2 separate regions of the Homo sapiens genome follow, and region 1 is linked to region 2. Evidence: promoter capture Hi-C in 16 types of primary human blood cells and fetal thymus (Javierre and others, 2016). All regions are on one chromosome and are shown on one strand. The core of a region is centred on a gene start or on the middle of the fragment in contact, and the rest is flanking DNA. Distances in the headings are between cores, read along the strand shown.

Evidence for each region. Contacts are between HindIII fragments. The CHiCAGO score rates a contact against its expected background, and 5 or more counts as called.
Region 1: a fragment that was not itself captured here is called in contact with the fragment with the promoter of NEK1 in region 2 in 1 of 17 cell types (total B cells); the score reaches 6.9 in total B cells.

Annotation. Positions count from the first base shown.
Region 1 is chr4:173,168,809-173,174,048 of GRCh38, reverse strand. It overlaps GALNT7 (polypeptide N-acetylgalactosaminyltransferase 7), which reads right to left and starts at 5,238. Exons shown (of 12, transcript NM_017423.3): 1 at 5,088-5,238. The coding sequence starts at 5,213. GALNT7-DT (GALNT7 divergent transcript) reads left to right here and starts at 4,397. Exons shown (of 7, transcript NR_134242.1): 1 at 4,397-5,185. RefSeq lists a silencer at 3,860-5,089. The HindIII fragment of the contact is 850 bases long and covers 2,598-3,447 here.
Region 2 is chr4:169,610,596-169,615,644 of GRCh38, reverse strand. NEK1 (NIMA related kinase 1) reads left to right here and starts at 3,062. Exons shown (of 36, transcript NM_001199397.3): 1 at 3,062-3,423; 2 at 3,502-3,625. RefSeq lists enhancers at 2,990-3,049, 3,470-3,589. The HindIII fragment of the contact is 11,256 bases long and covers 1-5,049 here.

The DNA.
Region 1 (5,240 bases), core at 1,773-4,272, 3.6 Mb before region 2:
TAAGTGATAGCTCCATCCCTAATAGTATAAACAGAGCTTCCATTTGAAGTACAATCTCATGTTCAAGGGCAGAATTTTTCAGGTTACAACTGATCATCACTGAGATAAAATGGCTTTGGTAAGGTGGAACTTGACTGCCAGGGTAATCAGTTCAGCCACTAATCCTCATTTAAGCTATATTCCTTTCAAACCTGTTAGCTTGCCTATCACATAAAACCTCTTGGCCTACTAGTTCCTGAATTAGTCCTATTATATACACCCTGAACCTAAGTGGCATTAATGACTTGACTAAAGTTGCATTTGCATATCCAGAGAGTCATTAGTTTACACACAGCTTCTCACCAGTACTGAATGTTTTAATGCAGGGGTCCCCAACCCTGGGTCATGGAGCATAAACCCTATTGTGAACTGCATGCAAGGGATCCGGGTTGCACACTCCTTATGAGAATCTAATACCTAATGATCTGAGGCGGAACAGTTTCATCCCCAAACCATCCCCCACCCAACCCAACTCCCCCAGTCTGTGGAATAATTGTCTTTGACAAAACCAGTCCCTGGTGCTAAAAAGGTGGGGGACTGCTGTTTTAATGGATCTGTCAACATTTCCTTTAAAAACCTTTATTTTCAGAGGCTTATGGGTCAACTGTAGACAGTCACTCAGGGCTAAAACCTGGGATAAATGGTGTTAGTCTGGGACATAATTTATTTAATTAAAGGAACTTTCTGTGCTTTGCAAGTCCAAGCAGATAATCTTAATAAATGCTGACCTTAAAATATCCAGAGGGCAAAGACTAAAAAAAAAAAAGCTTCCCATAATCATAAAATACAATACAAGAAGGTATACATTTTGCTTTGAGAACTTTCCATAATGAAACAAATAATCTATCATCCTAGGCCTCCTGACACCTTCACTACCATATCCAATAGCCAAATCCTGATGCCTTTGCATCTTTAGGAGCTCTTGAATCAATTTATTTTTTTCTATCTCTACCACCGCCCTGCCAATCTAAGCAAGGATTATGTCCCACCTGAATAATGATGACCCCCACCAGGACTCCTGCTACCTGTTCTATAGACAAATACATACTTTCTGTAGGCAGCCAGAGTGATCTTTTCAAAACACAAATCCACTCTTCCCTACTTAAAATCTTTCAACGGCTTCTCACCGCACTTAAGATCTCCTCCTTAGCATGGACTACGAGACCCATGCTTTCCTGTGTGGCATCATTCTACTTGTCATTCTCCACGTTCCAACAATATTTATCTCCTAGTTTCTCACTATTTCACTCATGCTACCTCCTGCCTCAGGACCTTTGCCCAAATGCTCCTTCTCAAGAATGCTGCCACCCACTTCCAGATTAACTACTTTTCTTGAAATGTTCAGATTTCGCCTCAAAAGTCAGAGTAGGCAGCTAGGCAGACATGAGCAGGGCAGGAAAGGCCCCCCACCACCAGGAATGTCAGGCGGCCATCAGGTGATGGTCAGGCCGTTGTTAAACTGTCTCTCTGAAATAATAATTGGTCGCGCCAACACCATGGAAAGGCAGTCTCCCATTAGATAGAAAACACCTAAAGCTGGTTATCAGCAGGTTCCCACTAAGATCTCAGGAGTTGGGCAAGTGGGCTCCAGCATGTGCACTAATAGGCAAAATGGCAGCTTTTAACTAGTATATGCCCTTCCTCTAGGAAGGCTCAAATTGTAAGGGAAAAATGCCTCAAGTGAGCATGAGTAAAACTTCAGTAAACACACTGCAGGCAGCCCCTCCCCGCTGCTGGCAGGCCACTGCGCATGCAGACAGCCCACCCCAAGGGAAGAATCACGGGAGAAGAAACGCAAACCCTGGAATCATGCCAATGTATAAAACCCCAAGTCCAGGGTCAGACGAGGTACTTGGATTTCTCAAGTAGCCCACATGGCCTTCTTCAAAGTGTACTTCCTTCCGTTCCTGCTCTAAAGCTTTTTAATACTCTCACTCCTGCTCAAAAATTTGCCTCGGTCTCTCACTCTGCCTTATGCCCCTCCAATAAATTCTTTCCCACAGGAGGTAAGAATCGAGTTGCTTCAGACCTGTGTGGATTTGCTACTGCTAATAGTCATTTCTTCAAGTAAGGCTTTTATGACCAAATTCCTCCATTTTCTTGCCCCCTATGGTTTTCACTATGAAAGCAGTAGCACAATTTTTATTTATATATTTATCGAGGTTTGATTGCTGTGTGGTTTTTACAAGATCCATGAGATTAAGGACAAGGAGTATTTCCTTAACAACTAGTACCATGCCTGGTATATAATTGGCACTCAAAAATGTTCAAATAAATCAATATTTAAAATCACACAACAGAATATGATCGGAAATGTAAGGTCATTTTTCACATCATTCACTTCAGAGAAAGGGCAAGAGGCCCAGAGATGGGAAGGAAATAAGAAACATGTTTCTTTTGTCTTGACTCCACAGGTGGACAGACCTAAAACAAGGAAATAGTGCAGATGAGAAAGGACCATCCCAAGTTGTCAAGGCTGTAACAGAATTTAGTGTATGACATATTCATAGTTCAAGACAAAAAGTGGCACAGGGTGAATGGAGCCACAGGTACAAGCTTGCTGGAGTAGAGGCAGAACCCATACCTGGTAAACTGGATCGTTCAGGCTATTTAAAGGGATCCAAAAAAGTCCATGTGTAGATCAGCATTAAAGAGAAGCAGAGATCTCACCATGGGTGGAATATATGCAATAGTCATCGAAGTAAAAGAACCACAAGGGGGAGGAGAAACTCAGGAGTCAGAATCCTCCCTACAGGATTTGTCCTTCTAGCACTGTACCTTAAAAGCTCCTAGGTTAGTCTTTATTAAAGGAAGGCAATAATCCCTTATTTATGCTCTTATTATTTATAAGCTACACTTTAAATTGCTTGTATTACTATTTACCTGGGAAGCCAATAAAAGGGTCTTTCTTGCTCTTCTGATACCTAAGCATTCCTCTTAATGTTAATTATGTTAAGTCTTTAAAATCTACCTTTTGTTTTTGACAAATGACAGAAATTACACTGGATCCACTGAGAAACTTTATCAAGTACACTGAAACAAACAAAAAATCAAGATATCATCACCTTCTTTATCATCACCATATAGTACTGAAATGGGCATTATGGCCCATCCTTTGTTTGCACTAATAAAATATTCCACGAGTTGGCAAGTGATGCTGATGTTCCGCCACCTCTTTAAAAGATCATCAGAAGGGCGGGACATTCTGAACCTAGCTAGTTTTGTCAGTTTTTCGTCAGTTTCTCTACCAGAAAATAGGGGGTTAAACATTTCTAGCTACATGTAAAAAGCCATTTGATGACTTAAAACAAATATCCTCAATTGCAATATTCAGTTATCCTTTGTCAATAAGTCATATTGAGAGCAAAATTATAAAAAGATCACCATCACTCCATGAGCTGAGAAGCTTAAAACCGCAAATGTACTGAAAAGGAAAACTGATACTTTTTATTACCATCAATTTAGATGACTTAGATGGGAATCTATCCCAGATATTACAAAGGGATTCCACTGCTGTAGAGACTTCAAATACTAAAACTTCCAGATTACATCTAATCTCATGATATAGGCGAAGAGCTGATAATGGGATCTCCTCCTAGGATTCTTACTCTTGAAAGGACGCCACAAGCCTTTTTGCCCAACTTCTTGATGCTAACTTTCCAGAAGGAAAGTTAAATAAACATGACATAGAAGCGATGCTCATCACACTTGCAAAAAGCACTTTACAACAGAGAGAGCGACTCGACTCCTCCTGCAGCCCCGCCGCCTCGGCGGTCGTGAGCCCCTCATACCCTCTCCTACCCCCACTGGCAGCCGGCCCAGTTGGCTGTCCCAGCGGGGAGGAGGAAGCAGGTGGTGCAACGGTTCATCCGGGGGGAAGCAGGTCAGGGTCGGGGGCGAGGCCGGTGCGCGCCGCCCGCTGCCGGGTCAGGGAAGCCGCAGTGCCCGCGGTCCCTTCCCCGCGCGGCGCGGCTCCGGGTAACTAATGTTCCGAGGCGCCTGACTAAACCCTCCAAATCCAAGGAATGTCAGCGCTAACACTCGCGCCCTGGGCGGCAGACAAATGCGTCCCAGCGGAGCCGCCGCGAGCTCCGCGCCGCCGCTCCCCTCGGCGTCGGCCTGAGCTAGCCGGCAGCCGGCGCGGGGCGGCCGGGCGCCGACACAAGTTAGTTTTCCGGCCCAAGCAGCCCTGCCGCAGCCAAGGAAGAGGAACTGCTCCTCTTCCCCCGGATAGCGCCCGAGCACTGCCACAGCAGGGGCTTCCCCAGGCGCTGAGGGCTGGGGGCGGCGGGCAGGCGGGGCGGGGACGCCCCTCCGCCATCTCCGGCCAACCGCCCCTCCCTCGCCCAGGGACGCGAGGGGGACCGGCGGTCCGGGCGAGGCCTCGGCCGCGCATCGCACCCCGGCTCCCCGCCGCCGGAGTTGAGGGGGAGGCGCGCTCTCCGTAAGAGCCGGAGGCGGGGCGCCATCGCCCTCCCACTCCCCGGCGGGCGGGCCGGGGGAGCCCGGGGCTGCGAACACCCCCAGACGGGCGGCTGCGGGAGGGGAGGCTGGACCAAGGGGCCTGGTCCACCGGACCAGCGGTGGCGGCATCGGCATCTCGCCTCCTTCAGGCCTGCACGCGCCACAGGCCGCAGCCTGGACCAACCCCGCGTCCCCGGGCCGTGAGCGCTGCGGTCCCGGCCCCCCAGAGCGGGACGCCGGGCGGCCGCAGCCCCCCGGACCCGGCTCTCCGCCCGCTCCGCCCGCAGTCCCGGCGCGGAGAGCGGCCGCCCGAGCCGCTGCCGCGGCAGCGCGGGTGTCGGCGACGGAGCCCGGGGCGGGGAAGAGCGGAGGAAGGGGCGGCGAGGGGGCGGGCCGGCGGCGGCCAGGGAGGTCGGAGTGCGCGGGGCTCGGCACCCCCTCGGCCCGCGCTGCGCCAGCACCACCTGCGGAGCTGCGGTGCCCACGCCGTGCCGCGACCCCGCCGCCCCTGCTCCCTCCACACGCGGGCAAACAAAACAAGTTGCCGGTCGCTGCCGCCGGAGGGGGCCGGGCGGGTCACTCACCCTCATCCTGCTCAGCGGGCTTGGGTCGTCCGGCCGCGGGGTCAGGGAAGACCAGAGGACCACTAGCCCCAGGAAGCTTCCCACCACCAGCAAACTGCGTAAGATGAACCCAATCTTCAGCCTCATCTTCCTCCGGCGGCGAGAGACTCACAG
Region 2 (5,049 bases), core at 1,813-4,312:
TAAAAATTTCTCGCCTAGAATGTAGCAAGATGGAGTACTAAATGCCAAGACATTGACTTTTTTTTCTCCCTTGGATTTGAATATTACATGTCTGTAAAAGATCTGGATTTTAGAGAATGCTTTTCTTCATATTTAGTATTTTAGGCCCTTCTCTAATCACAAAAGATTGTAGGTAAGTATGCATATTCTCACTCATAGGTGGGAATTGAACAATGAGAACACAAGGACACAGGAAGGGGAACATCACACACCGGGGCCTGTTCTGGGGTGGGAGGAGGGGGGAGGGTTAGCATTAACATGTTAAATGACGAGTTAATGGGTGCAGCACACCAACATGGCACATGTATACATATGTAACCTGCATGTTGTACACAAGTACCCTAAAACTTAAAGTATAATTTAAAAAAAAAGATTTTAGGTGAGTATAATCAGAACTTATGCCTTCATAAATACATAGTCTTAATAAAATCATTTACATAATAATTTCACAAAGGGAAAATAGTGTAGTTCTATACCAACCATTTGCTCTAATTTGTTATTCTCTATTTTGTTTCACCTTGCTGCCTGCTTTCTAGAAAGAAGGAATAACAATATCCATTCTTTGAATATGTTTGTCCCCATCATCTAACATATAGTGCTTAATTGTGAATGCATGGCAGAATATATTTCTGAAAAATCTAGTAGAATAGCTTAGGTATACTGCTAGTCCCCTTCCATTTACTATATTGTACTACCACTATTAATAAGGAGTTAAGAAATTTTCATAACCAAGACATAGGAGTGTTAAAGTGAAAAAATATGCATACATTTTGACCCAGCAAACCTACTTTTCGAAATCTATCCCACAGAAGTAATTATACCATTGGAAACAATATGTCTACTGAATGGAGTAGATTTTGGTATAGCCATATCATGAAATATCAATATCATTCACAAGAATTAGTTGATATCCGCATAGATGTTCATATACTATTAAATTTAAAAATGTACGTTGCAAAATAATATGTATACTATAGTCCCGGCTAGGCACAGTGGCTCACGCCTGTAATCCCAGCACTTTGGGAGGCCAAAGCAGGCAGAATTACTTGAGCTCAGGAGTTCAAAACCAGCCTGAGCAACATGGTAGAACCCATCTCTACAAAACACACACACAAGAAGCCTGGGCAACATGGCAAAAACCCTATCTCTACAAAAAAAATACCGAAATTAGCCAGGTGTGATGGCACGCACCCATGGTCCCAGCTGCTCGGGAGGCTGAAGTGGGAGAATCACTTGAGCCTGGAAGGCGGAGGTTGCAGGGAGCTAAGATCGCGCCACTGCACTCCAGCTTGGGAAACAGAATGAGACCCTGTCTCCAAAATAAATAAGTAAATAAAAGACTAAGACTAATATATAAAATATAAAAATGCATGCTTATGTTTTTAGGAACTTAGAGAAAAATGTAGATGATATTAATTAACTGTTAACATTGGTTTCGTGGAGGACAGCACAGAAGAGCTCTGGGAAGGAGACGATAGGCTTTATCTTTGTGTACTTGTGTTACTGGCTTGTTGCAAGAAGCAAAAACTTTTTTGTTTGAAAGAAAAGTCCAATAAAATATTTAAAGAAAAAGAAACCCCAAAGCACTCTTGTTTAAAAATAAAAAAAAAAATCAATTGTACAGGGGTATATAAACCAGAAAGGGAAATCAGGTAATCTTCTTAGGTAACCTGCTTTATTTACTCATCAATATATCAATGGTATCTTTGTATGTCAATAAAGTAGATCTTGATTACTCTTTTAAATGGCTTTAGAGTATTTCATTGTTTGGATATATTATAATTTAATCAATTCTTTATTGTTATACATTTACAGTATTTCTAGTTTTTCTGGTTATAAACAATAACGGTTATCCTTGTATATAAATCATTGCTCACTTGTTCCAGAAGTTAAATTGCTGAGTCAAAGGATATGCATACTGCTAGCATACCTTCTAGAAAGACTGTAGCAGTTTGTAGTCCTACCAATAGTTTATGACATGAGCCTAAAGAATTATCTAAGGAGGTTAGCTGACTAGCCATTCTTCCTGTAAGCAGCAAAAAGAATTTGCTTAGATTAGTAATTGGCAACATTTCACTTCACTTTGATGTACAAAAGGATGTGGGTAGAACTACAATTGTGCATTCAGACATGATAATTCCTACTAACTGGGGGTAGGAGGGCCCACAGGAGTGTAGACTAGAAGTAGAAAGAATGAGGAAAATAAGTCTTTTGTAGCTGTATGGCGATTGAAGAGGAGATAAAACAAACTCTCCAGCTTTTCAGGTTGGGTGACTTGCAGCGCCATCGTCTGGCAAAGCCGCCAAAATCTTTCAATGTCCCTAGGAATAAAGTTGCCCTGAGTAGGGCCACTCAGGATGACGCCAGATGATATCCCTTATTATAGTTTTAGGGGAATCTCTTCCTACCTTCGCCAGTCCTGCAGTGAAAAAATGTACTTAGACTGCTGTACATTTCCAAACCCTTCAACATACAGACAAGTAATTTATACATACATTAGATGTAAAGGTGTAGAAAACCCCATACAGCTTTTTAAAAATATCTCAAGACTTAAACATTCTTCTGTTTCAACCATCCAAGATATAATAGGAAAAGACTTGCTTTTTAAAGCAAAATTGCTCTTTAAAATGTGGCATCCCTAAGTAGTGCGCTTTCATGTAAAATAAAAAAGTCCCTTTCTCGGTGTAGTAGCTGTGGGAAAATTTTATATGCTTTATATTCCAAATTGGTTTCAACTAGTGAGTTCTCTCCCGCATCTCTGCATGACTCTTAACAGCTTTACACTCTCTCCATCCTTTTCATCTCTCCCGTCTCGTCCTTTCTGTCTTCCCGCCTGCAGAGCCCGCCCCTCCCGTCCCTTCGCACAGCACCCCGCCCGCCCCTTCGCACAGCACCCCGCCCGACCCTACGGTTCTAGCCCAGCCTCACTGCTCCTTCCCAGCCGCCTCCGCTGCGTGCCGCCTTCCACGCGCTGACGTCACACGCCAGCGCCGGTGACGCGCCGGCCGCTCTCCCTTAGTCCGCATTCGCTCCAGGGTTTTGGGACCCTAGGTTGCGGAGTCCTTACCCTACCCTGGCCTCTCGAGCAGTTGTCCCCATAACTCGGAATCTAGAGCCGCTGTTGCGAGGCAGGAGCACGTGGCAGTCAAGTAGCTTCCCAGTCCCGAACGCCGCCCGTCCCCACCCCGCCGTGGCCACTAGCAACGACCTCTGTGAAGTTGGAGAGGCGGTAACGGAGGCACTCCCCCTGCTGCACCCCGCCGTTTCTACGGGGCTCAGAAACCAGTTTGTTTGTTTCGTCGGGGTAGTGTCGACCTGTCTTACGGGCGTCGCCCGAGACAGGACGGAGTCAAACCCGTGGTATCAACTGAAGACGAGTGTCAGGTGTGGAGAGTCTCAGTGCCCCCTTTCAGTCTGGACTGTGAGCTGCTGCTGGTTAGACAGTCTTGGTTTCTCTTTCAGGATGTCATTTTCAAAATGCGGGATGGTACCTCTGCTTTATTAAGCCCCGTAGGAAGACTGCCACACCTAGACTGATGCTTATTAGTCATCACCGTTATTCCTACTAACGTCCTGTGTCACTGAGGTGAGTTCCACTTGGGGGAAGGAATGACATGCAAAATGGTAAAAATCATCCTGGAAATGAGATGTGCGTAGAACTGCTTATATTGAGATTACACAGATACCTTAAGTGTTTGCAGGGAAAATACCTTAATCTCATTTAAATGTTAATTCTCTAAGACACTCTGTATTAACAAAGCGATTCTTGGACATTACGGTATTTTTAAAAACTAGAGCGGTAATGGGATTAAAATAATAGGAATCTTAGTATGGATAAGCAAGCATTTGCATTGCTTATGTTGTGTCCAATCTTAAATTACTGATAAATTTTAATTAGGAAGCGAATATGAGTAGTAGTTAGCTGGTTACCCTGTAATCTTAGATTTCTGTTTCCATGATTTGACACAGTTTCCATATGTAAGGCATTAATTGTTGTACTACTTTAAGAGTTTATCATAACTTTTTTTGCAGGCCTATTTTTTGTTCTTTAAGATCTGCTTTAGGAAGCAGAAATATTTTTTATTGCCTTGGTATGTTTCATTAGAAATGTTTATGAAGGATTAAAAGTGGCATCCAATCTAAGTTAATGACCTTTTTTTATGATGCAGCAGTATTGTAGAGCTGATGGAGGGGAGCCAAATTTGGAGAGAAGTAACTCCTTGTTTCTAGTTTACATTTGTCTGGTTTTAGAGGTTCTACAGATCTGTTTCACTTAAAATATCCATTGTTCTAGGTGAAATGTAAGGAGCCTATTTTGTGGGAAAACAGGTTTTTTTCACGTTAAAAGTCACTGTCAGGAATTTAATAAAGGTCGTCGGACTTGACCACAGAAGTTCTTTTGAGGTCGTGTGAATAGTACATTGACATTGTATTCCAAGTAAATTTTGCCCTGTCTAATCTCCTGCCTTCTAGTCTAAGTCATGAACATGACACCTTTTCACGAATGTACATTCTTTATTTACCTGTTGGTAGTTTCTACTACAAAATCTGTTGAATATTGTCTGAATAGACTTACAGAGAAGAAAAAATATTTTGAAAAAAGTCTAATAGAAATTCCATTTTTGCTTTCTGCTTTTTCGAATAAAGGAAGATAAAGAACTTTTTTCCTGAGAAGATAAATGGATCCCCTCCCACTATTCAAGATGGTATTTATTGCTTAGGCAGAACTGTATGTATGGATTGTAGCTGCATACAGCGCCAAAAGACTTCTTGAAACCTGTTGCCATGCCTTTACCATGTTTCCCTTCAAGACAGCCTGTCTATAGAATATCTGAAACACCTGATGAGAGCTTAATGCTTAACCTAAGTATGTGTTCCAGATTGATCGAAGTTGAGCTTTTCCATTCATATACTCTAAAATTGTTTATATGTGGCTCACAAAATTTTATTATGTCCAAAATTGCTTATTTGTGGCTTTAAAGAAATTCTTAGTGGCTGGGTGCTGTGGCT